Linked DNA regions of Homo sapiens: region 2 is linked to region 1. The links are contacts of gene promoters, found by promoter capture Hi-C in human tissues and cell types (Jung and others, 2019). All regions are on one chromosome and are shown on one strand. Each heading gives the region's core, a stretch centred on a gene start or on the middle of the fragment in contact. The rest is flanking DNA. Distances are from core to core; before and after follow the strand shown.

Evidence for each region. Contacts are between HindIII fragments. The study calls those that stand out against the background at their distance.
Region 2: a fragment that was not itself captured here is called in contact with the fragment with the promoter of GALNT15 in region 1 in 4 of the 25 tissues and cell types used here (aorta, hippocampus, pancreas and 1 more).

Annotation. Positions count from the first base shown.
Region 1 is chr3:16,172,869-16,176,156 of GRCh38, forward strand. It overlaps GALNT15 (polypeptide N-acetylgalactosaminyltransferase 15), which reads left to right and starts at 1,812. Exons shown (of 10, transcript NM_054110.5): 1 at 1,812-2,822. The coding sequence starts at 2,284. The HindIII fragment of the contact is 4,561 bases long and covers 1-2,787 here.
Region 2 is chr3:16,026,249-16,029,450 of GRCh38, forward strand. No RefSeq gene overlaps it. Among named protein-coding and RNA genes, the nearest start is that of GALNT15, 150 kb to the right of the region's middle. The HindIII fragment of the contact is 5,694 bases long and covers 1-3,202 here.

The DNA.
Region 1 (3,288 bases), core at 562-3,061:
GAAACAACTGAGTCAAAAGGTAAAACATTTTTTTCCACAAACATTTTAGCTGACATTCTAAGATCAAAATAAAGACAAAAACAATGAGCAAGTTCATTGCAGGACTTCCCCAATGGCAGTTTTCCCCCCTCCACTCTTGGTTGCAGACAGCATGGCTGCTTTACAGCCATCAGAAGAAACACTGCTCATGGTGATGGTCAGCTATCCTTCAACCTGTTCAAGCCAGAAGCCTGAAAACTGAGCATGCTGGATTCTCTTCTCCCTTCTACCTACCTCACTCCCTCAGTGATCTCAGGTCTCACGGCTTCAAACACTATCTGAGTGCTGCTGGAGTCCAGCTTTGTATATGCAGGCCAGACCTCCCCCTGACCTTCAGCTATCCTACAACTGCTGCCTTCACTTCATCTCCTCTTAGCTGTCTAGAGGACATCTCGAATGTCACATGTTCCAAATCAAGCCACTGGCATGCATTCATCTCCTTCCACCTTCTCTCCTTCCCCATCTTGGTTAATGGCAAGTCTATTCTTCCAACTACTCAGAACAAAAATTTGAACTCATCTTGACTCTTCTCTTCCTCTCACATTAGTCATTAATTCATCAGCAAATCCTATAGGTTCTTCCTTAAAGTATATCCACAAGCTGACCCCTGTCACCACCGATGCCACTTAGTGCAAGCCAAGAACCTCTTGGTTGGTCTCCCTGCTCCTGCTTTTTGCCCCCCACTGATTAGTCTCAACCCAGCAGCCAGAATGATCCAGTTAAAACCCAAGTCAGATTGTGTCTCTCCTCTAAGGGCTCCCCTCTCACTCAGAGGAAAAGCCAAAGTTCCTTCAATGCAACCAGGGGGTGTCCTGCATGGTCCTCCTGCCCCCCGCCCCCTTGCCTCTCTTATTCCACTTCCCATCAGGCTCCACCCTGCTCTCTTTGCTTCAGCCATGCCGGCTGTTCCTCAGACATGCCAGCATACTCTTGCCTTGGAACCTTCACATTTATCATTCTGTCTGCCCCGAACACTCAACCTCAAATAGCTGTGCAGCCCTCTCCTTTACACAAATGGTAACTCTTCCATGAAACCTTTCTCCACCACTCAATGTCCATTTCCAAGCCCAGCCCATGCTCCCCAGCCCCATCCCTGCTCTGCTTTTTTGCCTTCATCCTCATCACTATCTGACCCAGTGGATAGTTTTAATTGTATCTGTCACTAGAATGCAAGCTCCATGAGACACACATTTTTGTCTGTGTTATTCATTGCTCTACTTCCAGTTCCCAGAACAATTTTGGCACATAGCATGTGTTCATTAATTATGTGTTGGTTAAATGAAGGAAGCTTTATGAGGGAAAGAGCATGCCACTCCTCTTCCAGCGTCCCCCTTGGTGGCCAGGGCAGAGCAGGCATTCAGCTGCTCTTGTGGGAGAAGAAGGGACTTGCAAGATCATCTCCCTTAGCTCCCTCATTTTCAGGAGGCCAGGGACAGTGGTCCCCAGGAAGGGAAGGAGAGTCCAACCTAGTTTGCCTGATCCCCCATGGGAGGCTGAGGTTGCAAACAGACAGCTGCAGCTCCTTGCAGCTATGCCACACACACAGCCTTTCTGAATCAGAGGGTATTAGTCTTTCCTTCTGAACTCTTGGGATATTCCTGTTTTGATTTGGCTCTAGCAGTGACCACACCGAGTTGTGCAAAGCCTGGGAACAGTGAGGGCATTAGGACCAGGAGTGACGCGCACGCTTGGCTCTGGGTTGTGTCTGGCAGAGGGCTCTCGGCTGAGTGGAGCTATGTGTGAAAGGAAACCAGGCACTGCCTGCCGGCTTTACATCTGTTGATCTGACCTGACTGGAAGCGTCCAAAGAGGGACGGCTGTCAGCCCTGCTTGACTGAGAACCCACCAGCTCATCCCAGACACCTCATAGCAACCTATTTATACAAAGGGGGAAAGAAACACCTGAGCAGAATGGAATCATTATTTTTTTCCCAAGGAGAAAACCGGGGTAAAGGGAGGGAAGCAATTCAATTTGAAGTCCCTGTGAATGGGCTTTCAGAAGGCAATTAAAGAAATCCACTCAGAGAGGACTTGGGGTGAAACTTGGGTCCTGTGGTTTTCTGATTGTAAGTGGAAGCAGGTCTTGCACACGCTGTTGGCAAATGTCAGGACCAGGTTAAGTGACTGGCAGAAAAACTTCCAGGTGGAACAAGCAACCCAGGTTCTGCTGCAAGCTTGAAGGAGCCTGGAGCGGGAGAAAGCTAACTTGAACATGACCTGTTGCATTTGGCAAGTTCTAGCAACATGCTCCTAAGGAAGCGATACAGGCACAGACCATGCAGACTCCAGTTCCTCCTGCTGCTCCTGATGCTGGGATGCGTCCTGATGATGGTGGCGATGTTGCACCCTCCCCACCACACCCTGCACCAGACTGTCACAGCCCAAGCCAGCAAGCACAGCCCTGAAGCCAGGTACCGCCTGGACTTTGGGGAATCCCAGGATTGGGTACTGGAAGCTGAGGATGAGGGTGAAGAGTACAGCCCTCTGGAGGGCCTGCCACCCTTTATCTCACTGCGGGAGGATCAGCTGCTGGTGGCCGTGGCCTTACCCCAGGCCAGAAGGAACCAGAGCCAGGGCAGGAGAGGTGGGAGCTACCGCCTCATCAAGCAGCCAAGGAGGCAGGATAAGGAAGCCCCAAAGAGGGACTGGGGGGCTGATGAGGACGGGGAGGTGTCTGAAGAAGAGGAGTTGACCCCGTTCAGCCTGGACCCACGTGGCCTCCAGGAGGCACTCAGTGCCCGCATCCCCCTCCAGAGGGCTCTGCCCGAGGTGCGGCACCCACTGTAAGTAAGGCCCTTGTTTTCCCTTCCCTGATCCCAGGGCATGATCGGGTGGTAGCAAACTCGGGAATGCAAACTTTCCGTAGCCTGCCTCTCCTGACTTAGAGCAAGTGCTTTTCAAGATGCAGTACCTGGGCCAGCAGCGTCAGCAGCCCCTGGGCACTGGTGGGTTCTCAGAAATGCAGATTCTCAGACCCCATCCCAGACCTGCCAAACAAGAAACTCTGGGTGGGGTCCAGTGGTCTGTATGAACAAGCCCTTCAGGTGAGAATCATTGTCCTAGAAAGCAGAAAGTGAGGACTCTTGCTTGTTCATTCTCTTCTCCGTCCTGGGTTCTAGTTCTTCTGTCTTTAGGTCAAATGGCTTTATTTCTATAACACAGAAGGGAGGTTAGAGCAGACATTTGCCAGTTCTAACACTCTGACTCCACTACATTTTGATTTTAGGGTTATTGTTAGTGTTTGCTTTT
Region 2 (3,202 bases), core at 231-2,730, 150 kb before region 1:
TGAATTACTCAGTTCTGAACATCTGGAGCTGAGTTCCATGCTTGGTACATAGGAGGTACCCAAAGGTGTTGGTTAAAAGAAACAGTGAGAGTCTTGAAGGCAGTGGGTGGGGAAGAAAAAAAAGAAAAGGAGGAAGTCACATACTTAGAAAAGGCACAATGGTCAGTACTATACATCATCTTTTAAAATTTAAATCTTCTTAAGGTTCCTAAAGGTCTGTATAAAATACAGCAAGCTTTGATTTCCAATACCACAACCCATAAAAGCCCTTGATGGAGTAGATTTGTCTGGGGGTTCCATGTGTTTAGAGGAACAAGACGAGTCACCTGGTAATCATATCATTCCCAGTATTTGACATGTGTCTTGGGTGATGCACAGTGGCCAATCCTTCCTGTTTCCTTTATAACATTCATTGAATAATTCCTTGAATGTGGCAGGCACTGGATTTTCCATGCATCATATGTGAGGGAAGTGACAGTGGAACATCAAAAGCCCAGGAGAACTTACTCTCCTTCCAGCCCTTGCATCCTCCTGTGTGCCCTGGCTGCAGGCTCCTCCCCACATCCTTTTGGAGGGAACTGGATACCAGTCCTCTAGTCGGGAAGTATTTTCAGTTTTAAAACCCAGTCATTATTGACTGGCTGGCTGAGTTTCCTGTTCAAAAAGTGCACAATCACCCATCTCCCCAAAATATACGTCCAGCCAAGGATCAGATTTCCCTCAGCTGGCCAGCCACTTTTCTAAGATGAGCAGTTGCCAACAAACAAGCTTGGAAGCAAGCAAACAGTTGTCTTTTCTCCCTCACTACCTCTCTCCCGTCAGTCATAAACTCCAAGAAAGGTCAGCTGGGACCTGTCCAGCCTCCAGCCACAGCCTAGCACAGGGTAGACATGTCAAACAAAACAGGAAAAATAATTTACCTTGCCCTTGTCCTTTCCCTCAAGTTTTATTTTTATTTGCCATTGACTTGAGAGAGCCCACAATAAGAAAAAGAAATCAAGCCTAGATCATTGTCTCTTCCCTGGACTGTTGAACTAGACTCTGCTTTTGTCCTGGCCTCCTGCAAATCTTTTTTTTTTTTTTTTTTTGAGCCTCGCTCTTTAGCTCAGGCTGGAGTGCAGTGGCGCGATCTCAGCTCACTGCAACCTTCCGCCTCCTGGGTTCAAGCAATTCTCCTGCAATTCTCCTGCCTCAGCCTCCTGAGTAGCTGGGATTACAGGTGCATACCATCATGCCTGGCTAATTTTTGTATTTTTAGTGGAGATGGGGTTTCACCATATTGGTCAGGCTGGTCTTGAACTCCTGACCTTGTGATCTGCCTGCCTTGGCCTCCCAAAGTGCTAGGATTACAGGTGTGAGCCACTGCGCCCGGCCTCAAATCTATTCTTAATTCAGAGGCTAGAGGGATTCTGTTAAAAGGTACATCAGAAAATGCCATTCTTTTGCTCAGAACTCTCCAGTGGCTCTCCCTTCCACCAGAGGTAAAGCCAAAGCCTTCCAATGGCTAAAGGCTCTACATGATCAGCTCCTATCCCCCCAGCCCTTTATATATCTCATTTCCTACTATTCACTCCCTCCCTCATTCCTCAGCAGACACAATAATCTTGTTGTTCTTTGAACTCATCAGGCACCTCTCGCCTCAAGGCCTTTCCCCTCATTGTTTATCTGCCAAAGACACTCTCCCCCCGATATCCATGTGGCTCACTCGCTCACCTCCTTCATATCTGTGCAAACATCACCTTCTCAGCGAGGTCCACCCTGGCATGTATGGTACTATGCAGTGCTGCAAACTGCCTTCTTCCTCTCTATTGCTGTTCCTCGTCATCCTGTTCTATTATTTCCATAGAATGCATCATCTTCTAGCATAACATATAATTTATATATTTATCATATTTATAGTTTGTCCCTCCCAAGTAGAAATGTAAGCAGTAAGAGGACATAGATTTTTGTCTTTTGTGCCTATTTTGTCTAGAATAGTGCATGGCATATAATAGGAAGTCAATAAATATTTGTTTAATGAAGTATATTCCATTTAAGACAAAGAATCTGAGGCTGACTCTAAGTCACAAACATTATTGAGGCATTTTGGAGTAGACATCAGTTTCCTCCATGCTAGAAGCCACATTCATCAGCTAATCCTTGCTTCCCTTTCATTGACAGTGGGACTCAGGGGAGAAAGTTCCAGGGAGTTCACTGCAGAGCCAAGTAGATAGATAGCATTGGAATTTTCCTGCATTTACTTTTTCATCAAGGTCAAGAAGACCACGTGAAAACTCTAAAATGTGGTTTTTCAGTTAAATACATTGTCTTGAAAATGCCCTTTTGTTTGCATGATACTATATTCATGTGTCAAAACTTACAGAATAACTCTCAAGCAAGGAATTGGTGGTGGTGGTGGTGGAGACGGGGAGAGGGAGGTGCAGTTGAAGAGAAGGAATTTAGAAACATTGGCTTATTCATGTGAGCTGCTCTATTAATAAAGCCAGTGCCCCCTTTATAACAGGGAGCCCTGGGAAACCAAATAGAAAACTCCTGTTTTTAAGAGACAGACTAATTGAGTCATCGTCTCTGAATTCCCTCTCTGCTACTTCTCACTCAGACTGCTGATGATTTTATTTTTAATTTATCTAAGGGGGCTATGAGTCATTATTGAGATTAGTTTCCATAAGGTCCTCTATCACTAAACACTGTAACAACCTGCAGTAGTTATCTATTGCATAATAAATTACCCCAAACTTATTTGGTTAAGACAACAACCGTTTAATTTGCCTGCGATTCCATGGGTCAGGACTTTAGAATCCATTTAATCAGCTTACAATTCTGTAGGTCACAAATTCAGGGCTTGGCTGGGTGGTCTTTCTGCTCCAGGTGATGTCAGCTGGGATCATTCATTTGGCTGCATTCAGCTAGTGGCTGTGCTCAGCTCTAAGTTTGGCCTCATGCACATCTCTGCTGCTTCTGCGTTCTTGGGTTCCTCCATATGGCCTTGCTTTCTCCAGGGACTTGGGCTCCCTCACAGCATGGTGGTCTTAAGGTGCAGCCATGGAACTTGCACAGCAGTAACATTTCTACCATATTTGATTGGTCAAAACTGGGCCAAAGCCAGCCTATATTCAAGGGGAGGGGATTCTACCTCTCACTGAAAGGAGGGGCAAAGACTTGATGACTGTATTTAATCCATTACATAATCAAATACAGGCAG